Linked DNA regions of Homo sapiens: regions 2, 3, 4 and 5 are each linked to region 1. The links are contacts of gene promoters, found by promoter capture Hi-C in blood cells and fetal thymus (Javierre and others, 2016). All regions are on one chromosome and are shown on one strand. Each heading gives the region's core, a stretch centred on a gene start or on the middle of the fragment in contact. The rest is flanking DNA. Distances are from core to core; before and after follow the strand shown.

Region 1 (2,788 bases), core at 190-2,689:
GTGACATAGATGCACTCTGCACTTTTATGTTGTTCTCTTACAAAATCTTGGGAAAATTTTTTATTTTAAATATGAAATATTGCAGGCTTACCCATATACTTAACTTTGAATTATTTGTTCTCTTGGAATTTCTCCAGTCTTGTATTTCTGTACACGAATTATTCCTTTCTGAAAACTAACTGGAATTATATAGATGTATTCCTGTAAGTGTGCCCTCCTCTTTTAGACTATGTGATTTCCATGTATTTCAGCCATGCTTTGGCTGACTCACACCTGCATTTGTTTAACTCATGATAAATACTAATAAATAAATACACTCTGAACTGGTACACAATAGGTACAATTCAGAAATTCCTTAGAGGCAAGCAGTGTCCCATTTTCATACTGGAAAATTTATTTTTCTTGCCATGTTGGTACTGAATATGGCTTGTTATCAGTCTGAATAACATTTTGTTCTGATTCATATCATGATTTTTTTTTTCAGTTTCTACATTTGTAAATAGCCTAGCATATTTTAACTGTGGACTCATTGTATGCTCATTAAAACCTCAAAAGTGCTTAGTAAATCTCCCATCCTCTTAAGACAAGTAGCACACTTGCTGGATGAAGATTGCCATGACCATAGTTTCACAGATGTTTATCTTTGATGAGACTGGGTTATTTTTGAAGGAAGAAAGTAACATGGGTAAGCATAGTGAACAGCCACATTGTGCTTAATTTAAGATTCATCTGTCTGGATTACATGGACAAGATACTTAAAGCTGGATTTAAAAATACCTCTTACCTGATTTTTAAGGTCATCGATGGTTTTGTAGTATTTGCTGTAGTCACGAGGCTCCCCCTGATGTGAGTTGCCATGCTTTTCATACCACTCCTTGATTTTGCCTTCCAGCTCATAGTTTGATTCTTCCAGAGCCCGAACTTTGTCCAAGTAGGAAGCCAGGCGGTCATTCAGATTCTGCATGGTTACTTTTTCATTTCCAGAGAGAAGGCCACCATCTCCTCCAAATCCACCACCAAAGCCTCCTCCAAAGCCGCCTCCACCAAAGCCGCCTCCACCAAAGCTGCCCCCACCAAAGCTGCCACCTCCGAAACTGCCCCCTCCAAAGATGCCTCCATAACTCCCACCAAAGCTGCTACTTCCATAGCTTCCACGAAAGCTACCTCCACCAAAACCTCCTAATCCTCCATAGCCACCTGATGAGCCCCCAAAGCAGCCCCCACCAGAGCTCCCACGGCTAAAAGAGCCACCACTGAACCCCCCTGAGCTAAATCCTCCACCAAGGGAGCCTTTGCTGCTAGAAATTCTTAGGGATGACACTCCTCCTCCTCCTCCACATCCTCCTCCTCCTCCTCCTCCTCCACTGCGGGAGGAAGAGTAGTGCTTGCTTGAGCTGTATCGAACAGACATGGTGATGCTGTTTAGCCCAGGGAGTGCCTGCTACCAAGGACAGTGACAAGCCTTTATATACTGAGAGGGTGTGTCCACATGTGTTAGAGTTTGCTTACTTACATTGTTTTCTTTTTGCCAACTTAGCATCTTTGGCTTATGATTGCATAAATTATCTTCAGTAATAACCAATCCTAATATGTACAATTTTGAATTTGCCCTAAGAATAAACAGGAGGTTTGCTATGTTGAAATTGAAAATGGGTGGAGTTCAGATGAGCATGTTTTATTATGCTTTTCACCTGTTGAAGAACATTGAGCAACCGTTAAGATCCATTTTTCTCAGCACTAATTCAGGTTGCATAGAATGTTTGCAAAGTTTAGAAAAAAAAGTTTCAGCTACAAAATTATAGTTAAAATAAGATTTTTCAAATTCATGTTTTAAACAGTTTTAATTGGAGCAACAAATAGCATAAAGTCTGGCAGGATCATGCTACAATAAGGTTCTTGTAGACAACTGTAGGGAATCAAAAAGAAAAAGTTTCTAAAAATTTAACTAGCATCAATAGTTGCCACACATAAAACATTAAAGCCATAAAACCACAATTTAGGAGATTGTGTTTGTAGGAGATCTTTTAATTTATTTGGCAAATGAGAGTATATTGATATTTTGCCTAAGAAAGTGGAAGTAATGATTTTAGAATTTTCTAATTAATGATGGCATTATTTTTAACATTAAAAAATCTGAAATCATAAAGTTATCCTGGATTATTTTGCACTTTTAAATTCATCATAGTTAAGGTTTCTGTGAAGACCATAATAATGCAGAAAATCTGCATTATTTTCTTAGCATGAAATCCGAAGAACTAACTTGTAGTACTTTACACTAAGTTCTGATTGAGTAAAAAGGGAAAATTTGGATATGTTATGATTGCAAGTAAAAATTTGCTTGCAAAAATGTAAATCTATATTAGAGAATGATACTTGCACCAAATATTATGAACTAGACTGTGCACATGTGTTCCCAAGCTAGGTTCAGTTTCTCAATAAAAACAACACATTTTCTTGGATATACTGTGTACAGAATTTGGTATAACAGTTTGTCTAGTGAAGTAAATTGGGATTTTGGTACATTGTATAAGATTATATCTACCCATAGGCTATGACATTGCTGTTGTTTGGATGTATATATTCATACATGTTTTACAATTATGTAGTGCTGTTTGTGATACTGTGCTTTAAAAATTTCTAGAACAAGCTGTTGAGATAGGAATGGTGGTTATTATTATTTCTTTTCTTTCTTTCTTTCTTTCTTTCTTTTTTTTTTTTTAGACGGAGGCTTGCTCTGTCGCCCAGGCTGGAGTGCAGTGGCGCCATCTCGGCTCACTGCAAGCTCCAC
Region 2 (2,788 bases), core at 176-2,675, 870 kb after region 1:
AAAAAAAAAAAAAAAAGCGCCCCACCTCCCAATAACTGTTCAATTGGCAATTAAATTTCAACATGGGTTTTGGTTTGGGTGGAGCATTCAAACTATAGCAATGATTCTAACCCCAGCATCAGGAGCTTGTCGTGTTAAAGGTCCTACAAAACCAGTCTGTTTCATGAACACAAAATAATTTAGCCTTGGAGCCAACCAAGGCTCCAAATACAGTGGCATTGTTCAAAATATTTGAGTGAATTTTTTTTTTTTTTGAGATGGAGTCTTGCTCTGTTGCCCAGACTGGAGTGCAATGGCACGGTCTCGCCTCACTACAGTTTCTGCCTCCCAGGTTCGAGCGATTCTCCTGCCTCAGCCTCCCGAGTAGCTGGGACTACAGGCACGTGCCACCACGACTGGCTAATTTTTGTATTTTTAGTAGAGACAGGGTTTCACCATGTTGGCCAGGATGGTCCCGATCTCCTTGACCTTGTGATCCGCCTGCCTCAGCCTCCCAAAGTGCTGGGATTACAGGCATGAGCACCGTGCCTGGCTGGGTGAGACTTTTAAATCAGTAAGATTTGACTGTAATGTAGGAGGTTTTTTCTTGGAGGAACTTCTAGAGCAAGGCGGGAGGCCAAACACACAAAATACTACAATCAGGATGAAACAGCAAGAGAAGAGAATTCCTTCTATGCTGTAGGTTGTGAACACGGCCAGGTTCTGTGCTAGGCTGTTCCATCTCATGCTTTTTAAGGACCTCCAATTCTCTAGGATGGGATTATTCCAAGTTAAACCATCAACATCTATTAAATCAGCTCTGTGAAGCCAAGCGAAACAAGTATCTGTGAACACAGAACTGAGGAAGTTGGTGAACACCCTTATCCACCTGATGTAACCTATCTCAGGCTGAATGAAGAAAAGTATAATTAAAAAGTCATGATGGGCCGGGCGCGGTGGCTCACATCTGTAATCCTAGCACTTTGGGAGGCCAAGACAGGCGGATTGCCTGAGCTCAGGAGTTCGAGACCAGCCTGGGCAACAACGGTGAAACCCTGTCTCTACTAAAATACAAAAAATTAGCCGGGCATGGCGGCGTGCGCCTGTAGTCCCAGGTGGGAGGCTGAGGCAGGACAATCGCTTGAACCCAGGAGGCAGAGGTTGCAGTGAGCCAAGATTGCGCCACTGCACTCCAGCCTGGGCAACAGAGCGAGACTCCGTCTCCAAAAAAAAAAAAGAAGGCATGATGGCTGGTTATGGTGGCTCATGCCTGTAATCCCAGCACTTTGAGAGACCAAGGCAGGCAGATTGCTTGAGTCCAGGACTTCGAGACCAGCCTGGGCAACATGACTAAACCCTGTCTCTACAAAAAATACAAAAATTAGCCAGGCGTGGTGTTGCATGCCTATGCTCCCAGCTACTGGGGAGGCCAAGGTGGGAAAATGGCTTGAGCCCAGGAGGCAGAGGTCGCAGTGCGCCAAGATGGCACCACTGCACTCCAACCTGGGTGACAGAGATAGACACTGTCTCAAAAAAAGAAAACAATGTGATGTGGACATTCCCAAGGTAAGTTGTGGAGCCTCATCTAGAACCCAGGACTCCCTGTGTACCCCTCCTCCCACCAGCTGCACCTGTACATTCACAATTTCTGTAACTCATTTTCCCGGTGGAGTGGGAGCAGAAATAAATAAATAAATGCTCATCTTACAGAGATTGTTGAGTGCTTGGTATCTGTAGTACACTACAGGGCATGTCAGGCAGACCCCCTGCACTCAGGGAGCTGACTGCCTGGTAGGTAGATGTAAGACCAGCACACAGCCTTGACGCAGGACAGAAAGGGACCCAAAGAGCCACAGGATCTCTGAGGACTGCGAAATCTTCCCCACTCCCATCCTCAGCCAAGGGGGCCAAGAAGGCTTCATAAAGGAGGTGCTGTCTGAAGCCAAGCATTTCGAGCAGAGAAAAAGAGTCACACCCAGAGGTGAAAAGGCACCTGGAAGCCGGCGCAGTGGCTCACGCCTGTAATCCCAGCACTTAGGGAGGCCAAGGCCAGCAGATCACTTGAGGTCAGGAGTTCGAGGCCAGCCTGGTCAACATGGCGAAATCCCATTTCTACTAAAAATACAAAAATTAGCTGGGCGTGGTGGCGGGCGAGATCGTGCCACTGCACTCCAGCCTGGGCAACAGAGCGAGACTGCGTCTCAAAAACAAAAACAACAACAAAAAAAAGAAAGATTGATTATGCTGAAAAGGTCCCTCAGCTCTCTGCTCCTTAGTCCTCCTCTCCCACCCCAAACCCCCCCAGCCCTCCTGCCCCCATCCCCACACGCTGCAACAGCTACACGCAAGGACAAACTGAGTGTTTCTTAAGATGGTGTTATGAAGACAAAATGAAAACTGGTCAGCTAAAACTGCATAAGAAGCTACAAAACAACTTTAGAACCTATTCCAATTGCTGTCAACTCTATGAATAAGCCAGAAAAACACATAGCATATTTGGAGAACTGAACATGACCCCCTTCCTGGTTTATCAGCCTCGATGGTGCCCCCTTGTGGCAGTAGTGTAAAAACACAGTTTACTGTGCACAAGGCTTTACAATTTTTCAATTAAGAGCTCCTTGACCAATTTTTAACTTTTTTTTTGGTGGGGGGACAGAGTCTCACTCTGTTTCCCAGGCTGGAGTGCAGTGGGGTCTCCTGCTAGGCACCATGCACCCTTGTTGCCCCCTCCTGCTCAAGCCTCTCATTTCTTCCACTCTCTAAATGCAAGCGTTCCCAAGGGATTGTCCTGACTGTCCTTCCCTCTCCC
Region 3 (2,788 bases), core at 189-2,688, 810 kb after region 1:
GAAGGCCACAGAGGAGCAGGATCTGTGCAGGAGCCAGCGTCATGCCCCGAGGAACGGCCCCTGCAAAAGAGCAGCATGATCCGCAGGCTGGTGGCTGGCACCGCTCCACCCAACAAGGAGATTAGTATCCTAATCTCCGCGGCACTAATGATTTAGGTGCTGCCAGGACACCGGCGTCTGCACCAGGCCTGTCTGAATGTGGAGCTTCCCAGGGCAGCCAGGGCCCGCGGAACAGGAGAGGGGAGAGAAGTGCATGGGTGGCCTGGGCTCTCTGCCCGCATACGGGGACAGGGAGGGAGTTGGGTTTTCCATGTGGCCCAGAGCTCCCAGATGAGACCACACTGCTGGAAAGACTTCCTGCTCAGATAGTGGGTGGTCTCTCACGGAAAGTGCCAGCTGGGGACTGTGCCAGCTGGGAATGGCAGGAGCTATCTGGAAGAGAGCGGTTGAGCCCTGATTTTACTGCTCCCGCCCAGCCTGTGAAGGTGCTGGGCGGGGATGGGGGGAGGTTCAAAACCAAGGCTAGAGAGCAAGGTCAGACCACCATGAGCACGAGGTTAGACATCTGGAAGGACTTCCTGGCAATCCAGGACTGTCTTCGGGGAGGAGAGAGACCCAGTAAAACCCGTGCTCACCTGAGCCGCCAGAGTCAAGACTGCACCAGCAGGCACTCACACACGAAGAGACACGAAACCAAGACCCTCCCCATCCCCATCCTCTCCTAACAACCCCTCCCTTCCCAGGCCCCATCCTCCCCTAGGCCAGCTGGGCTACCCAGGTGGGCCTCACTCTGGGCTCACAAAAGGGACTGCCCCGCCTTCCAGCAGCAAATGTGGGGCAAAGCCAGGGCCCTAGGGAGGGGGCCAGGTCGTGGGGTGCCACCACCCCTCTGCCTCCCCGTAGAGCCCACACCGCCAGTGCTCACCCTGCCTGGGAACCCCACTTCCAGAGTACCCAGACCTTAGTCTTGAGGCCCAATTTGAAGGAGCAGAGAGTTTATTACTCTTCTTTCTGCCTCTAAAATCACCAAGGCCTCCAACCCCCAATACCACCATTTAGCCCCCACAAGCTTCCTCACCCCTGACAGGCTTTGGGCCGCGAGCCTGCTCCTCTTCCTCTCTGGGCCTCAGTTTCCCCACGCCACTGACCCCCCCCCCAGGCCCCTTTGCTACTGCTCGTTAGAGGCTCTACTGCCTGTGAATCCCCCTCTAGCCCCCAACCCAGAGAAGCCTCACATGCTGAGGACAGGCCGGGCCAGCTGGGCCAGCCGGGCAGGAGGGCACAGCTCAGATCTCAGCAGAGATAGAAGTGGGACCCCAGGAAGGCCTCCCTGGCCCTCCAGAGCGTGGGGCCACTCCCTGGCCAGGGCTAGGAAAATGCAAACATTCCTCCTGAGACCCTCACAACAGTGCCTTGAGGACACCAAGACACAGGGTGCTTGAGCAGCGGGCAGTCGGGCAACCCAATGTTGGCATCAGAGCCGGGCCTGAAGCCAGGGCCTCGGCAGCTCCCACTCTCCCAGCCAGGGAGGAAGGCTTGACAGGGGCCGGCTGGAGGGCCACACAGAGGTCCTCTGGGCTGTGGCACATCCTGTCTGGGCCTGTCCTCCACCCCCAGCAGGGAGAGATCCCTGGCACCCGCAAGGGGCAGCCCAGGCCTGCAGCCCCGGCAGCGGCAGCAGCTTGGCCCCCATGGAAGACAAAGGGGTAAAGAAGGAGAGGTCCAATGGCTCTTCCAGCCCCAGAGGCTGCTGGAGCCCAGCGCAGGTGGGAGAGGGGGAGGCCCAGGGAGGTGGCTGGGAGAACTTGAAGCTTCCCCCAGTGCCCTGGGTGCCAGCCCCACCTTGACTCCCCCTCAGTCTCCTCTGCAGAGAGTGCAGAAAAGCCAGCATGCTGGAGAGCGCAGCACAGACAGGACCTGCCTGGAATTTGAGCAGAGCTAGGGTTTGGGGACAGTGTCCCCTAATATCACCCCTACTATGTTGTGGGGAGGCAGAGGGCGTAGAATGATCTGGGGCCCTATGGAAAGGAGATGTTCAATAGATGCATTTTTTTTTACTTTAAATAGAGATGGGGTCTCACTATATTACCCAGGCTGGTCTCAGGCTCCTGGGCTCAAGCAGTCCTCCTGCCTCTGCCTCCCAAAGTGCTGGGATTATAGGAGTGAGTCACCACGCCCAGCCAATAGATGCATATTGATATTGACAAGGTTGACAAGGTCTGGACAGGATCAGTGGCTCACACCTGTAATCCCAACACTTTGGGAGGCCGAGGCAGGCAGATCACTTGAGGTCAGGAATTTGAGACCAGCCTGGCCAACATGGTGAAACCCCGACTCTACTGAAAATACAAAAATAAGCCAGGCGTGGTAGTACCTGTAATCCCAGGTAGTCAGGAGGCTGAGGCAGGAGAATCGCTTGAACCCGGGAGGTGGAGGTTGCAGTGAGCTGAGATCGTCCCACAGCCCTCCAGCCTGGGCAACAGAGCGAGGCTCCATCTCAAAAAAACAAAAGAAAAAACAAAAAGACAAGGTCATGCCCCGTCTGCCCAGCTGGCCTTGGCTCCTACGAGCCCCCGCAAGGATTAACTGTCAACCCTTAGGATGGTGCCCACCCCATACCCCACACCCCTGCCCAGAACCAGCGCGGGCTGTATGCAGCAGGTGCTCTGTGAGTGCTTGCTGAATTGTTAGGGTCATGGAGCCTGAGCAGTGACTGGGGAGGAGACAAGGTCCCAGGAAAGGGACATGGCCACCTACCCTTCCCCTCAAGGAAAAGGGTCAGTATCAG
Region 4 (2,788 bases), core at 99-2,598, 730 kb after region 1:
TTTTTTTTCTTTTCTTTTTCTTTTTTTTTTTTTAATTTAGAGACAGTCTCATTCTGTTGCCCTGGCTGGAGTACAGTGGTATGATCATGGTTCACAGCAGCCTCAAACTTCTGGGCTCAAGTGATCCTCCCACCTCAGCCTCCCAAGTAACCCAGTAATTAGGACAACAGGTGCATGCCACCATGCCTGTCCAATATTTTTTTCTTTTTTTGGTAGATGCGGGGTCTTGCTCTGTTGCCCAGGCTGATCTCAAATTTCTGGCTTCAAGTGATCCTCCTACCTCAGCCTCTCAAAGTGCTGGGAATACAGACATGAGCCGCCACACCCAGCCCACATAAGGTATTTTTGACAAGCCTCTGCTTATGGGATTTGCTAGCCTCTGTATTCTTTTGGGGCTCAATAATTGCTCAAGGCCATAGAGAACAGGAAACAGAGCACCAGCTTTGGAGCCAGGCCAAACTGGAATTATATCTTTGCTTGATCATTTACAAGCTATGTGACCTTGGACAAGTTACTTAACCTCTCTAACTTAGAATTTCCTCATCTATAAAATGGGCTTCATAATCCCAGTGTCCTTGGATCAGACTTCCTAGATTCAGTTCCTGTCTCCACTGCTTAGGAGCTGTGTGACCTTTTCAGCAAGTCATTTAATCTCGCTAAAAATGTTTCCTCATGTGTAAAATGAAAACAAGGACAGCATCATGAGATTGCTGTGAAGATTAGATACAGGGTTTATTCCCTTATCTTATATAAAATGCTTAGCGAAGTGCCTGGAACATTATTAAGTGCGCAATCAGTGTTAGTCCTTGCTCCTTCCTTGTGGACAATTGTTCTTACACTTAGTCGCCCAGCTCCTTTGTAAAGGAATTCTCCCTCTAGTGTCTGTGCCTCCTGGCTATAGAAGCCAGAAATTAGCCTTCCAGCCTCCCTTGCAGCTGGAGCACAGACACATGATCAGTCACACACATCACAGAAGCCTGTAAGCTGGGAGCTAATGTCCTAAAAAAGGAGGCACCTGGTGGAATCCATGCTGGAAGGAATAACTGCAGACCTCCAGTTTCTAGAAGCAGCAGCGCCACAAGTTTGGTGATAGCGCCAAGTGGAATGGGCTACTGAATCTGCACCTGCAGATAGTGGCAAGGGTGGGCTTGCTCCGGGCTGTGCTGCCTTCAAACCTGTTCCCTGCGAGTTCTTCCTGGAGAGTCTATGGCTTACCTAACATCCTTTAACAAACTGGCTTCAGAGTGTGGCTTCTGATCTTTGCAGGCAAAAACCCTGATGGCTACAGAATTTAGTAACAAGTGTGATTACTGGCATGAGACTTCTAAAAGATCTCCGTTTGGGTGTCCAAAAGACAATGTAAATTTAGCATGTCTGAAACTGACTCCCCATCTTTCATACCAGCCAACTTCCATCCCACAACTCCTATCATCCAGTTGCTCAGACAAAAGACTCAGAGACCTCCTTGACTTCTTTCTTTTACAATATGCAGTCCTTCAAGAACTCCTGGCAGTGCTTTCTTCAGATGATGCTCAGAATCCAGCCACCTCTGACCGTCTTCACTCTGAGTGCCAGGGGCTCTTCACCTCCCTGCACACTGGGCTCTCTGTTTCTGCTCCTAGCCTCGCAGCCTCTCATCAAGTGGCCTGTCACTCCTCTGCTCAAGGCACTGTGTGTTAGGATGATCATCAGCACTAGCTGCTGTGCCTGGAGTGGTCCCCACACACGCTTGACTGCCTCCCTCACTCCGTCAAGTTGATACAGAAGGGCTGGGCTCCTGGCTAAACCCTACCCTTAAGCCTGGAACCTCGGCCCTAAAGGACCCCATTTTCCCCAAAAATGTTACCTTTTTGGCCTGCCTGCCCACATGCTGTGCCCATAAAAGACTTCAGCTGGCAGAGCAACACAAGCGGCTGAGCACTGAGGATATAAGCAGCTGAGCGGCGAGCAGAAAAGCAACTGAGCATCGGAGACTGTGGATAGATCTGGCTAACTTCAGATGGTGCAGCTTTGGAGAGGGGCCCTGCCGGAGACGGTGGGGCTTCAGGGAAAGATCACCATCCCATCACCTTTCCATCCTCCCTTTCCACTGAGAGCCACCCAACACCCAGTAAAGTATTTTGCATTCGTCACCTTTCAAACAGTTTATGTGACCTGATTCTTCTTCCTGGACGCCAGACAAGAACCTGGGTGCCAAGAAGGCAGGGGCTGCCACCCTGAACCTCCATTGAACTGGTTGGTATTTGGCCATCCCCTGACAGCACAGCTGAAAGAATAGGGACGCTGCTGCAGGGCCCGAACAGAGCCTGCTCCTGCCAGAGAGGAGCAACCGGCTGGTTCCAGCGTTCATTTGCTCCGGTTCCCACACTTGCTCACACACTCACTCCCACAAGGAGTGGCCAGCAACAGGCTGAGTGAAACAAAGTGCTCCTTAGCTGGGCGTGATGGTGTGTGCCTGTAATCCCAACATAAGAAACCCCATCTCTACTAAAAATACAAAATTAGACGGGCTTGGTGGCCCGTGCCTGTAATCCCAGCGACTCGGGAGGCTGAGGCAGGAGAATCACTTGAACCCGGGAGACGGAGGTTGCAGTGACCTGAAATCTCACCACTGCACTCCAGCCTGGGCAACAGGGCGAGACTCAGTCTCAAAAAAAAACAAAACAAAAACAAAAAACAAAGTGCTCCAGTTCCCGCCCATGAAGGGCGTCAGGGCAACTATTCCATCGCAAAGTCATTGCTTATGTTTTACCTTCTCAGTGAACCCAACCTTGGCCATCCTATTTAA
Region 5 (2,788 bases), core at 91-2,590, 710 kb after region 1:
CCTTACCTGAACGGCCTCCGCTTCCCCAGGGACCACCAGCACAAGGAACTTCCTCACCCGCTCCTCCATTCATTCAGTGAACATGCATCAAGCGCAGCTTCTGTGCTACGCATGCTGCCAGGGGCTGGGGCACAGAAGTAAATACAAATATTTCCTGCCTCTAAGAGGCTGACAATCTGGTAGGGGGGTGTATAGAAGTGTATTAGCTTTGGTGAAATGTGGTAGGTTCAATAGCTACATCAATTTTGACTCCTTCCTAAAACCCTGCTATGATATGACAGTTAAGGAGTATTTTAAGAGAATGGAAGAAGAGGTGAGGCACAGTGGCACACGCCTGTAATCCCAGCGCTTTGGAAGGCCGAGGCGGGCAGACTGCTTGAGCTCAAGAGTTTGAGACTGGCCTAGGGAACATGGCGAACTCCTGTCTCTACCAAAAATGCAAACAATTAGCTGGGCATGGTTGTGTGCACCTGTAGTACCAGCTACACAGGACGCTGGGGTGAGAGGATCACCTGAGCTTGGGAGGTGGAGGCTGTAGTGAGCCAAGATTGCGTCACTGCACTCCAGCCTGGGTGACAGAGTAAGACCCAGCTGGAAGGGAGGAAGAAAGGAAGGAAGGAAGGAAGGAAGGGAGGGAGGGAGGGAGGGAGGGAGGGAGGAAGGGAGGGAAGGAGGAGGGGAGGGAAAGAAGGAGGGAAGGAGGAAAGGAAGGAGGGAGGGTCAAAGATGAGAAATGTCAACAAAAGCTTTAAAGCTCAAAAATGGTAACACAGAAGATGAGAGAAAGCTGAGACCCAGGGTTTGGGGGATTAGGAAGGGGTCAACAGAGGAGAGAGCAGGAAGCCCGTGAGAGGCAAGCACATTCTCAACATACTCTAAAGAAGCTCAAGAATTGGGGCACCACAGACATGGAGAGGAAAAGTGGAAGAGGGACCGTAAGCAGGGCTGGCTGGAAGTTTCTGTCAACAGTACCAGGCCCCCTCCCAGACCCCTACCCAACTAAGGCAGCCAGGGGACCACCTCTCCCCAATTCAGGAGAAGACAGGAGATTTACTTTTCCTGATTAGACTGGCCTGCTCACAACGTTTGATGATGTCAAGTGTAGAGAAGCCATGAGTAAATGAACCTCCTCAAACACATTGGTGGGAGGTGGGTTGTAGTAACCACTTTGCAGAGCGATTTGACAATGTCATCATTTTTTTTAACATTCATGCACTTCTTGAGCCATCAGTTCCACTCTTCGTGTTCATCCGAAAGAAACCCTGGCCCGTGTATTGAGGAAGTCATATAAAAGGATGCCCTATGCAGCATTGTTTGCTACAGTGCAAAGACACAAACAATCACTAATGGCGGGGAGGCGTTCAGTAACTATGTAACATCCTGCTGTGGAGGACTAGAAATTAAATGGAATGAGTAATGACAATGAATAGTGACACTGAAAACCCTAAAGAACTAGTTATTGGGCCGGACATGGTGGCTCACGCCTGTAATCCCAGCACTTTGGGAGGCCAAGGTGGGTGGATCACCTGAGGTCAGGAGTTCGAGACCACCCTGGCCAACATGGTGAAACCCCGTCTCCACTAAAAGTACAAAAATTAGCCAGTCGTGGCGGCGGGTGCCTGTAATCTCAGCTACTCGGGAGGCTAAGGCAGGAGAATTGCTTGAACCCGGGAGGCAGAGCTTGCAGTGAGCTGAGATCGAGCCATTACACTCCAGCCTGGGTGACAAGAGTGAAACTCCATCTCAAAAGAAAAAAAAAAAAAAACTAGTTGTTGGGTACAGTAAATCTAGTTGGAGAGCAACACACTTAATATGATAAATTCATGTCAACATACATTCAAAAGATGACTTATTGCTAAGGTCCATATGAATATGTATGAATATATGCATAGGTAAGGAAGGAATCTGATTGAAGGATGGTAGCCAATAGGAACCTAAGCTTAATCTCTATGGTTTTAAGTTTTATAAGAATGTATTTAGTATTTCTTGTTAATTAAAGTAAATAATTTCTTAAGTAACACTAAACCACAGACATTTAGAACTAGCCAAATTTCATATAGTCAATACCCTCTTCCCCTCCCTGCACTCACCACTGACATCATTGTCTCTGCTCATCCACACCAACCCTAGCCTTGAATTGAGAAATGAGAGAGGAAGTTTTGGAAGAGGGAGAACTAGATGTGAGGAGAAAAGAGACCCTGGAAAGGGTTTCCATCCTCGTGCCCCCACCCCTGGGTCCGCCAGGCTAGTTTTACTTCTTTATGAAACAAGAAGGCAAAACGGACAAGAAGAACTTTGGAAGAGTCTGAGTACAGGGAGAGCTCCTTGCAGCCGATGACTTACACCTGAGGAAAGCCCTCCCACTCTGGTTCTCCAAGGATCCATCGTCTGGAAGCATCTGAAGTTGGCCCCCCTGGGTGTTCTCACAACAGACAACAAGGCTCTCCCAGGTGGTGGCGTGGATCTGTGGGGCTACAGCTGGTGGCAGAGCAGAGGGTATTCTATGCAAGACAGCAGCCACCTTGTGGGCACATGCGAGGCATTCCCCTGGGGACTTTCTGAAATAACTGGAAGATCTTTAGGGGGTGCTGGAGTGGGAGCCACCATGTGGGCCATCAGGCTAGAGCTATTGACCCAGTATTGAGGTATGCCTCAAACCAATCAATGTGATCAAGTATGTAGACACTGGGAATTATGTCTGCCTGGGGGCATTGAGAGCTATTTAATTACAGAGGCATGACCCTTGAGCAAGAAGCTGACAGACCAGTAGGTATTTCTCAGGCAGAAG

The links. The method cuts DNA at HindIII sites, captures the fragments that hold promoters and counts their contacts. A CHiCAGO score of 5 or more calls a contact.
Region 2: a fragment that was not itself captured here is called in contact with the fragment with the promoter of KRT10 in region 1 in 2 of 17 cell types (total CD4 T cells and non-activated CD4 T cells); the score reaches 6.8 in total CD4 T cells.
Region 3: a contact is called between a fragment that was not itself captured here and the fragment with the promoter of KRT10 in region 1, in 1 of 17 cell types (M0 macrophages). The highest score is 5.5, in M0 macrophages.
Region 4: a fragment that was not itself captured here is called in contact with the fragment with the promoter of KRT10 in region 1 in 4 of 17 cell types (M2 macrophages, erythroblasts, M0 macrophages and 1 more); the score reaches 10.4 in M2 macrophages.
Region 5: a contact is called between a fragment that was not itself captured here and the fragment with the promoter of KRT10 in region 1, in 1 of 17 cell types (erythroblasts). The highest score is 5.3, in erythroblasts.

Annotation. Positions count from the first base shown.
Region 1 is chr17:40,821,175-40,823,962 of GRCh38, forward strand. KRT10 (keratin 10) reads right to left here and starts at 1,440. Exons shown (of 8, transcript NM_000421.5): 1 at 785-1,440. The coding sequence starts at 1,411. The region is part of intron 1 of KRT10-AS1 (KRT10 antisense RNA 1); the gene reads left to right. The HindIII fragment of the contact is 8,212 bases long and covers 1-2,788 here.
Region 2 is chr17:41,693,626-41,696,413 of GRCh38, forward strand. No RefSeq gene overlaps it. Among named protein-coding and RNA genes, the nearest start is that of EIF1, 6.1 kb to the left of the region's middle. The HindIII fragment of the contact is 4,888 bases long and covers 1-2,788 here.
Region 3 is chr17:41,635,343-41,638,130 of GRCh38, forward strand. It overlaps the pseudogene KRT42P. Among named protein-coding and RNA genes, the nearest start is that of KRT17, 12 kb to the left of the region's middle. The HindIII fragment of the contact is 742 bases long and covers 1,068-1,809 here.
Region 4 is chr17:41,554,814-41,557,601 of GRCh38, forward strand. No RefSeq gene overlaps it. Among named protein-coding and RNA genes, the nearest start is that of LINC00974, 1.7 kb to the left of the region's middle. The HindIII fragment of the contact is 4,431 bases long and covers 1-2,788 here.
Region 5 is chr17:41,532,621-41,535,408 of GRCh38, forward strand. No RefSeq gene overlaps it. Among named protein-coding and RNA genes, the nearest start is that of KRT19, 5.7 kb to the left of the region's middle. The HindIII fragment of the contact is 1,193 bases long and covers 745-1,937 here.